3 separate regions of the Homo sapiens genome follow, and all the other regions are linked to region 2. The links are contacts of gene promoters, found by promoter capture Hi-C in human tissues and cell types (Jung and others, 2019). All regions are on one chromosome and are shown on one strand. Each heading gives the region's core, a stretch centred on a gene start or on the middle of the fragment in contact. The rest is flanking DNA. Distances are from core to core; before and after follow the strand shown.

Evidence for each region. Contacts are between HindIII fragments. The study calls those that stand out against the background at their distance.
Region 1: a fragment that was not itself captured here is called in contact with the fragment with the promoter of GPR68 in region 2 in 1 of the 25 tissues and cell types used here (spleen).
Region 3: a contact is called between a fragment that was not itself captured here and the fragment with the promoter of GPR68 in region 2, in 2 of the 25 tissues and cell types used here (bladder and hippocampus).

Annotation. Positions count from the first base shown.
Region 1 is chr14:91,503,625-91,506,822 of GRCh38, reverse strand. The region is part of intron 1 of PPP4R3A (protein phosphatase 4 regulatory subunit 3A); the gene reads left to right. Among named protein-coding and RNA genes, the nearest start is that of PPP4R3A, 5.1 kb to the left of the region's middle. The HindIII fragment of the contact is 3,818 bases long and covers 1-3,183 here.
Region 2 is chr14:91,243,207-91,246,596 of GRCh38, reverse strand. GPR68 (G protein-coupled receptor 68) reads left to right here and starts at 1,893. Exons shown (of 2, transcript NM_001177676.2): 1 at 1,893-2,300. RefSeq lists enhancers at 2,126-2,175, 1,695-2,196, 3,256-3,365. The HindIII fragment of the contact is 47,768 bases long and covers 1-3,390 here.
Region 3 is chr14:90,966,823-90,970,330 of GRCh38, reverse strand. All of the region lies in intron 3 of RPS6KA5 (ribosomal protein S6 kinase A5), which reads left to right. Among named protein-coding and RNA genes, the nearest start is that of RPS6KA5, 92 kb to the left of the region's middle. The HindIII fragment of the contact is 3,115 bases long and covers 695-3,508 here.

The sequences.
Region 1 (3,198 bases), core at 25-2,524, 260 kb before region 2:
ATCCCAGCATTTTGGGATGCCCAGGCCGACGGATTGTGTGGGCTCGGGAGTTCAAGACCAGCCTGGGCAACATGGCGAAACCCCATCTCTACAAAACATACAAACATTAGCTGGTGCGGTGGCACGGGCCTGTAGTCCTATCTGCTCTGGAGGCTGAGGTGGGAGGGTCACTTGAGCCTAGGAGGTGGAGGCTGCAGTGAGCTGTGATCATGCCACTGCACTGGGTGACAGAGGGAGACCCTGTCACACACAAACACACATACACACACACCATGGACTTAGAAAAAATTCCAGGATACTTGTGAAATACTGTCAGTAATCTTTAGTCGATGATTAACATTTCTTGTCACATCTAAATAGGGATAATAAGTCAAAATTTACTGACTACCTACTATGTGCCAAACTCTTTTAGCAGTTTACTTATATTGACTTACGTAATTCTTACAACAGTGTCTGATTTAGTGCTATTAACCATATTAAACTCCCATGTTACTGTCTACTTGCATTTGCTGCTTTATTAGCCTGAAGGTTTATTTCAAAGAAAATGAAAATTACTTTTAGCCTAAAGATATTTTCGGCCGGGCACAATGGCTCATGCCTGTAATCCCATCACTTAGGGAGGCCAAGGCGGGCAGATCACAAGGTCAGGAGATCGAGACCATCCTGGCTAATATGGTGAAACCCTGTCTCTACTAAAAACATACAAAAATGTAGCCAGGTGTGGTGGCGGGCGCCTGTAGTCCCAGCTGCTCAGGAGGCTGAGGCAGGAGAATGGTGTGAACACAGGAGGCGGAGCTTGCAGTGAGCCAAGATCAGCACCACTGCACTCCAGTCTGGGTGACAAAGCGAGACTCCGTCTCAAAAAAAAAAAAAATTTCAATTATAGTTTATCTACAAGCTTTACATGGATGTTTTTGTGTTGACTGCCAGTTGGGGTCAGCCATTATTGTGTGCTTGCTCCATTCTCCATCATAGGATAATTGATATTTTCTTTTTGTTGTCATGAGCAAAATGGAAAGTATTTCTGATTTTCCATAAATTGAGTCATTTGTCCAATAGAAACTTAAAATTATTGCGCTTTTCCATACTTGGGCTAGACCTAGTCATTATTGTGTTGAAGTTTTTCTTTTCTAAATTACTTGTAGCTTTTCCCCAAAAAAACTTTTGATTTTCAGATTATTTCTTTAGAACAAAATAAATATTTGATTCTTAACACTTTTCAAGTATTTATTGTCTGTAAAATTAAGTTTTTGTGATGTGTTAATCATCCACCTTAGAAATAGGCTATCAGCTAATTTGGTGGTCAGTGCTAGAGATAGTGTGATAGGGGCTTTTGCATACCTGTGAAATAAATGGTGTGTGTTTTTTTTTTTTTTTTAGGCAGAATCTCTGTCATCCTGGCTGGAGTGCAGTAGCATCATCTTGGCTCACTGCAACCTCCACCTTCCAGGTTCAAGGGATTCTCATGCTTCAAGCCTCAAGCCTGGGATTACAGGCGTCTGCCATCATGCATGGCTAATTTTTGTGTTTTTAGTAGGGACACGGTTTCACCATGTTGGCCAGGCTGGTCTTGAACTGCTGACATCAGGTGATCCGCCCTCCTCAGCCTCCCAAAGTGCTGGGATTACAGGCGTGAGCCACCACACCCGGCCGCGTTTCTTTTTTTTAATAAGTTCTCTCAGAAAGGATGACAACATGTCCAAAGTCATTCATCTATTAAGATGGTATGAGTTGGGATTCAAATTCAGGCAATTCATTTTAAACTGTACACACTACTTAGTAATGACAAAGCGTTTGGGAATTTTATAATGTATATAGTGTTAGCATGGGTATAGAAAGGCTGGGTAGTTTTAAAATTCTCTCATTATTGGGTCTATATTTGTGGACGGGGAAGCTATAATAATGCTATCTCAACTGTAGGCTCAGTTCTTGTTAGGGGAGCTTATATGCTCGTCTAAAAATCACAGAAGAGAATTTCTAAATGGAAGTACTTGTGGCCTTCATGTTACAGAGCAGATCTGTCATGGTAAGTACTGTATGCCTTCCCTTCCAAAACCGAGTAACTTGGCACTCAACCTACCTTGCTTTAGAGGAAAAGGGATGTCCCACTAAGCTTCTGGGCCCATTTCTTGGATTGCATCTTTATCCAGTAGGTTTCTGCTGGCAAAATAGGTTGTAAGAACACGTCCCTTTTGTTTTTTGTTTTCTTTTTTTTTTTTTGAGTCAGTGTTTCGCTCTTGTCACTTAGGCCGGAGTGCAATGGCACAATCTCGGCTCACTGCAACCTCCGCTTCCCGGGTTCAAGCGATTCTCCCGCCTCAGCCTTACGAGTAGCTGACATTACAGGTGCCTGCCACCACGCCTGGTGAATTTCTGTGTTTTTAGTAGAGACGAGGTTTCACCATGTTGGCCAGGCCGATCTCGAACTCCTGACCTCAGGTGAGCCACCGCACCCTGCTCTTTTTCTTTTCTTTTCTTTTCTTTTTTTTTTTTTTTTAATTTTTAAGAGCTCTGTTGCCCATGCTGTAGTGCAGTGGCAGGATCATAGCTCACTGTAACCTCAAACTTCTGGGCTCAGTTGATCTTCCCACCTAGCTGGGATTACAGGTGCACACCACTGTGCCTGGGTAATTAAAAAAAAATTTTTTTTTTCTTTTTTTTAAGAGATGGAAGGGGGTGGGTCTTACTTTGTCGCCCAGGCTGGTCTCGAACTCCTGGGCTCAGGCATGAGCCACCATGCCTGGTCCAATTTTTGAATTTTTTCAAAGGTTCTCACTGTATTGCCCAGAATGGTCTCGATCTCCAGATGTGAAGTGATCTTTCCCACTTGGCCGCCTAAAGTGCTGGGATTACACCGCACCTGGCCCATGCTTTTCTTTAAGGAAGATAGATTACCTTATTTCTCTCAGTTTTTATGATAGCCGTATACCTGCAAAGTTCCATCTTCCATTTCAGATTATTTTGTTTTTATTTTTAATTCTTTCAGTGTATGCTGTGTCTGTTAACTTGAAGTAAGGATAATAATTTCATACCTTGCTTATGCTCTCCCTTTGTGGTGAAATCATTATACTACTTTTCTTTCTTTTGTTTTTTCTTCAACTTTTATTTTAAATTCCCGGGTACGTGTGCAGGTTTGTTACATAGGTAAATGTGTGCCATGGTGGTTTGCTGCACAGATCAACCCATCACCTAGGTATT
Region 2 (3,390 bases), core at 644-3,143:
TAGCATTTCACAAAGACCTGGGCTCAGCCAATTTGAGTAAAACCAAAGAAAGTTTCACCCCTCCTTCATCCCAAAGGCATGGTCCTTACTCCAGGTGCAGTAGGGCACATGCTGCCAGCAGAGGGGCTGGGGCAGCTTGCCAGCCCCTGGCAGGGCTGGAGGCGGGAGGGGACACCATGCCATTAGTGGTTCCTGCAGGTATAGACGATGATGGTGTAGACGGCCGGTGTGTGCACACCCTGTTAGGACAGGCCACCCCGTAGAGGGCCAGAGGTGCTCTCTCTGGCAGGTTGTGTCCTAGGGGTAAGCCAGGCAGTCACTGCTAAGTCAGTTCTGTGCTCCTAACCCCGCGTCCTCCTATATGACATCAGGGAAAGCCAGCCACACTTCCGCAACTCAGAAGTAGCACGTGTGTCTAAATGCACGCTACTGCACCACAACAAGCTGAAGCCTTTGCTCGTAACATAAGGCCTGCAAGAAGCAACTGACGTAGGAAACTTTTTTTTTTTTGAGACGGAGTTTCGCTTTTGTCGCCCAGTCTGGAGTGCAATGGCATGATCTCAGCTCACCGCAACCTCTGCCTCCCAGGTTCAAGTGATTCTCCTGCCTCAGCTTCCCGAGTAGCTAGGATTACAGGCATGCGCCACCACCCCCAGCAAATTTTTGTATTTTTAATAGAGATGGGGTTTCACCATGTTGACCAGGCCGGTCTCCAACTCCTGACCTCAGGTGATCCACCCGCCTCGGCTTCCCAAAGTGCTAGGATTCCAGGCGTGAGCCACCGCACCTGGCCGGAAATAGTTTTTAAAAGGCCTGCTATGTGGTAGCATTTGCTTGGAGGGCCCAGGCCCCACTGAAGGGGATTTCCTTAGACCCCCTACCAACAGAGTGAGGGCAGTGGAGCCAAGGCTCTTGGCATGAATAAGATGGGCATCAGTGTTTTAAACTGTGTTGGTCCCCAGAGCAGGGACCAAGCACAGGGCTCTGGCCACTTCCAGCAGGAAGGACTCGCACCCCCAGTGGCCCCATGCACCGTATCTGTTGGCTTCCTGGCTCTGGCAACGTAGCTTATAATCAGCTTCCAAGGAGTCTGCCTTGGAGGGAGGTGGTTACGCCAAAATGCTGGGCCTTTCCATCCTCCGTGTTATGTGTGTGAGGGAGGGAGTTTAGTAAGTGCTCCTGAGAGCCAGAAGGGCCCCCGGGGCCAGAGCCCTGGGCTTGATTCCTTCTCTGGGGACCGACACAGTTGAAAACATTGATGCCCGCCCTATCCTTACTGATGCCCAGAGCCTTAGCTCCACTGCCTTCGCTCTGCTGCTCTGCCAAACAGGATCCTACCTGCTTCACCACATCCGTGGCTGCCCACCTTCACTGCACTTTAGAACAGTCCAGGGAGCTTTAGAGCCACTGATGCTGGCACGTCACTTCCAGGAAACATGATTTAACCAGCCCCGGGTGGGGCCCGGGCATTGGTATTTTTTTTGTAGGCTCCCAGGTATGTTCTCATGCACATGGCCAGGGTTGAGCCCCAGTGACCCAGATGTTGGCGGCTTCCCCCACCCTTGCCTGGATCCCGGTATCCTGTAGGTGCTGAAAGGTGGCTAGAATTAGCCCACCCCCTCCTCCTGTATCCCCCCACCACAGTCCTGAGGGCACCTGCCCCTAGCTCAGGCTTTCACATTCCCAGCGAGGCTGCTCACTGACTCTGGGTTGCATGGAGAGCAGAGGAAGATGCGTGGAGAGAGCCATTCCGCCGCCCTCAGCCTCTGGCTGGCGAGTGGTTCCTCGGCAACCGCCCAGCCTGACACCAGATTGGAGTTCACATGATTCTGCCTCAGCTCGGGAATGGGCAGCCTCCAGCTGGGGATTTTCTAGCCGGAGCTGGGAGGTTCAGGCTGCGGGAAGTCGCTGGAGGGAGAGCTGGGATCGTGGCTGCAAGGGTGCCCAGGCTCCTGCAGAGCCTCTGCAGGAAGCCCAGCTGTTTGAGGTTTGAAGGCAGAGCCTAGCTGGGGCAGGCAGAGTCAGAGAGGACTCGTTTCAGAGTCCCCCCTCAGAGGACTCCCTCCATCCTGATTTCAGCAGCTGCCTGCTCCTCACCTGGTTGCAGAGACCACACTGCCTTCCTGGGGCCCTGAGGCTCTAGGAGAAGCTGGAAAGCACAGGTGGGGGTCCATCCAGCTGTTTCCAAACTGCGGGTTGTGACCCATTCATGGGTCAGTAAATCAACTTCATAGCTCATGACCTGCATTTAAAAAATTGAAATAGAATAGAAATGATCAGAGTGCGTGGCAAGAAGTAGGGTAAGTATTGCTTTGGGGAAGTTTGTTGCTTTGTACAGATGTGTGTGTGTGTGTGTGTGTGTGTGTGTGTGTGTGTGTCTGTGTTCTGGGTCGCGATGTCAGGTGTATTTCTTGCTATTGCTTGTGATCCAAAAAGCTCAAAGGCAGCAAGTTGGTGCCTAGACACGTGGGTTCTGGATTCAGATCCACCCCAACTGACTGTGTGAGTTTGAGCCTCCCTGCATTAGCCTCTCTGGGCTTCAGGTTCTGAGAAATGGCTTAGCAATGCCAGCCCACCTGACTCACAGGGACTTCGTGGGCCCAGATGGGACTGACCTTTGAAACAGTGACAAGGGTTCTAGAAGTGAGATGCTATGGTCCACGTTGTTGCTGGAGTGAGGCGATCTGGGGGGAAAATGGGGACTAAGGAAAAATGCATCCTGATGTTTCCCCTCTCCTCAGAGGGAAAAATAAAGCACTTTCAGAAAATGAAACAGCCTTGCTTAAAGCATGCAGAGGTTTGGCCAACTGAAGGAAAAGGAAGCTGGGCCCTGGGGAAACTCCCCAGCTCTTGTGGGTTTGGGGTTCCGTGAGCAGCCCTGGCACCATGAGTAACTGTCTGTGTGCGTGCCGGTGTGTGCTGCACGAAAGGGGGGGCGAGTTAGATCACTATTTATGTGCCAGCTGGAATCCAGCATTTAGGCACCTCCGCCTTCTGACTTGGGACATGCAAGAGACTCCTAGCTTAGTCAGAGAGGCCTTTCCTTCCTGTTGGGAGCTTAATTTCTCTTGGTCATTAAAGTCCTCAGAGACCTCTATGCTGATTTGCATTTGCTAAAGATTTGCTTTCAGGCGTTGAGTCACTCTATAGTTTTTCTCAATTTTTTAGCTGGGTAATAAAGTGTTATTTTGATTCTTTTCTCCAATGCCTTCCCAAACTACGGACTGGCCACGTGGCTGGTTTTCCTCAGTGGGCGTTGAAAACATGGTTGACCTGCTAAAGCATAGTCCAGGTGAAGGGGCCAGGCCAGGACCAAGCCTGGTGGCCATTGCTGCAGCATCTGTGAGGACTGGAGCTTGGCTGAGCTGGGGGCTTGAGGGTGGTGGTTCT
Region 3 (3,508 bases), core at 1,003-3,502, 280 kb after region 2:
TGGTAACAGAATGGTTCATGATATATTACAGTCACTAGTATGACGAAACAGACAGTAACTGAAAACACTTCCTTGCTTTGAAGTAAATATGACTAATTCACAAGATTGATAAGATGTTCTTAGTCAGAACTTTGTAATGATTTTGATAAGCTGAAATGCATTTATAGAGTGTACTATTAGAATGTTGAGCTAAAACCAAACAAAAATAAACTGAGATGGTTTTGGCATGACATTAAAAAGAAATGACTTTCAGGTTTGTGTGGCATGTCACGTTAAGACTATATTTTAGATAGAAGATAAGAAAAGGGAGCTATCAAGAGAGATTTGGGTGGTCCAGAGGAGAAAGAGTAGGTAGAAATGAGAACAGGAGGTATGGGAGTTCATGGAAGTGAAGCATATCAGAAGGAAGAGGAAAATTTGTAGGAAAAAAAATAAAAAGAAGACCAAGTAACAGTGCAGAGAGAGAGAGAAAAAAAGAGAGAAGTGGTCTGAATCATAGGGGGCATGTGGGAATTAATAACAGCTCTTTGGAAGGTGCCACCATTTAAGAAGAAATATGAGAGAGAGAAATTCTAAGTAGGAGAATTTGAAATAGAAAGCTTAGATGTCTAGAGGTCAGCCAGAGTATTACTGGAAATAAGTAGGTGTTTGGGTGTTTGGAGAGTGAAAGCAGAACAGAATCTTTCCTTGAAAGCAGGAGATGTAGGATTTCTGTTAACTCTACGACTTCCCCTCCTACAAGCTGACTTCCATGCAATTGCACGAGCAAGACATAGCCTTAAAATAAGCTTGCTAGCCCTTTCTGTGGTTATCCTTTTGCATCTTAAATGGAAAATGGGCTATTTAGGCTGTAGTTTTTAGTAATACTTTAAAGCTTATGTAACCCAATGTCTCTGTGAATTTCACTTTCTCCATCTGCTAATAAAAGTGTATGAACTGCAGAACAATGGAGAGATTTCTGAGTTCAACGTTAAGTCAAATCAGATGTGCAAAGACGAGCAGCCTGAAACTGTGCAACAGTATGTACTTAGAAAGTCAGAATTTTGATGGAGAGCACGTGCTGTTTTACCCTAACGTTAATTCCATAAGGTATTAATTGTCAGAATGATATGAGTTGCTTAAGAATCTTGGAAATTTTGTAGAGATCTTCAGTTCAAATTCTCAGAATTAATTTACTGTTTTAAGAAACAAATTTACTGGTTTAAAGGCTATTTTTCTCTCCTCCATTCTCTACCTGCCTTTCCATATACATACAAACACACATACACACACACGGCTTGCTATTCTGAATCCAAGAAGGAAATATTATTTCATAATAACAAAGTGAAATCTACTTGCTACTGTTAAATATCTGCATAAATTATGTGTCATTGAAATGAAATATAAATTGTTTTCCTAATATGAAAGATGTGTGACCTAAATTAAAGGGCTATTATTCTGCTAAAATAAAAAGATTGTTTTGGTTATTAACTGTGTGATCTTGAACAAGACACTTAAGTTATAAGCATGATCTACAAGTTGCTAATATATCAGTTGTCTTTTTCTGCATAACTAACCCAAAATTCAGTGGGTTAACATAACCATTTTTGAGGGGCTCAATTTGGGCTGATCCATAGAGGCAGTTTTTGTGCTATTTTGCTGCCTTTGAAACACTCTTTTCCTTTTTGCCCTTTGCAAAGGGCATAAAGTTAAGTAATATGAGGACTGAAAAGTATTCATTGACTCTAGTAACAAGAGGTTATTTTTAGCTTTAAGTTATGGTGTTATCATGGAGGTAGAAGTTGTACTGTAGTATGTTAAGGAATGAATAGAGGCTGTGGTAGACTGAATAATGTCCTCCCAGAGATGCCCACATTCTAATCCCCCAGGACCTGTCAGTATGTTGAGCTACATGGTAAAGAAGAATTAAGATTACAGATGAAATTAAGACCACTAATCAGCTGACTCTAAAATTGAGAGATTATTCTGAATTATCTGGTGTGGGGCCAATGTAACCACAAGGGTCCTTACACAATAGGAAGAGGGAGGGAGGGAGGAGAGAGGAGGGTGAGAGGGAGATGTGTCTACAGAGAAGGTCAGGTGATGCAATGTGAGAAGTGACTCAGCTGCCATAGCTGCCTTTTAGGATGAGGGAAGGGACCAGAAGCCAAGGAATGTGGGTGGCCTGTATCTAGAAGCTAGAAAAGGCCAGGAAACAGATTTTTCCCTGGAGCCCCAGAAGAAACGCAGTCCTGCTGACACCTTGATTTTAGTCCAGTGATGTCCATGTCAGACTTCGAGTGTACAAAATTATAAAATAATAAATTCATAGTGTTTACGCCACTAAGTCTGTGGTAACTTCCTATAGCAGCAATATGAAGGGAACAGTGGGTAAGGAGCATCAGCCATGTAGACCACGCTTTAAAGAAGTTTGGCAGTAAAATAAAGAAGAAAGACAAGATGGGACACGTGGGATTTAGGGAGGATGGTAGTGTGTTTTAAAATGGGAGAAATTTTATGTTTTTGAATTTTCACATTATTTGTGTGATTTCTGTGTTATTTTTATGCTTCTTAGAGACACAGTATCAGAGTGCTTCATCTGGCATTCCAAATACCAGAACATAAAAATCTTTAAAAGCAAGTTAATTGCACTTGAATAAAAACCAGATATCTCTGCAATTTTAAAACTTAGGATTGCACTGAAATATCAGTTATATAAGAAAATCTCTCTTTAGCTTAATACTAAGTAATTAGACCCTGGTAGTACTTTATGGAAATATATGTTAAACATTCATAAGTCTTAAAATTATGACCACATTGAGTATGTAAGTCAGGGCACAATAAATTTGATTTTTATATTTAAGTCATTATAATTAAGCTTGACAGTATTTTTCAAGTCTATAAATTGTAACTGATGCCTGTAAATAATAATAGGAGCTATTAGTTATTATTTAACAAATGCCTACTGTATGCCTGGCTCATAATCCTCAGTAGCTCATTTAATCCTCATGACAATCTTATGTGGAAGTTAGAATTATTTATATTAATATTTTGCAGTTATAGAATATTAGTCATCCTACATATAAAGAAGACCATTTAAGAAATACAAAGGAATTAAGATATAATCATTTACATGACATTTCTTTTAATCAAGAAACAAATCATTGGCACAAGGATCATATAAGGTATTCCATTGTATGGACTGTAAGTCAATTTCAATGGGATGATAAATGTTTTTTGGAAGGGTCACATTAATGAAATTTGCCTGACAGCTTCTGAGAACATGTATTAGAGTTAGCCCTACCTATTTATTTTTAATTATTGTCATAAAGATGGACTATTGATAGTTTTCTTTTGTTCTTCAGTTGTAAACAGAATAAGTCTGAAGACTTATCCTGAATTTATCTCTTGGAAGAGCTCAGAACTTGAGACATGCCCATCAAGAAAGATGTTCTTACTGTTATTACCAGTTCTCTTTTGCTTTCTCTCTTCTTTTCTATTTCTTTCTACTCTTTATCAATGCTGAAAC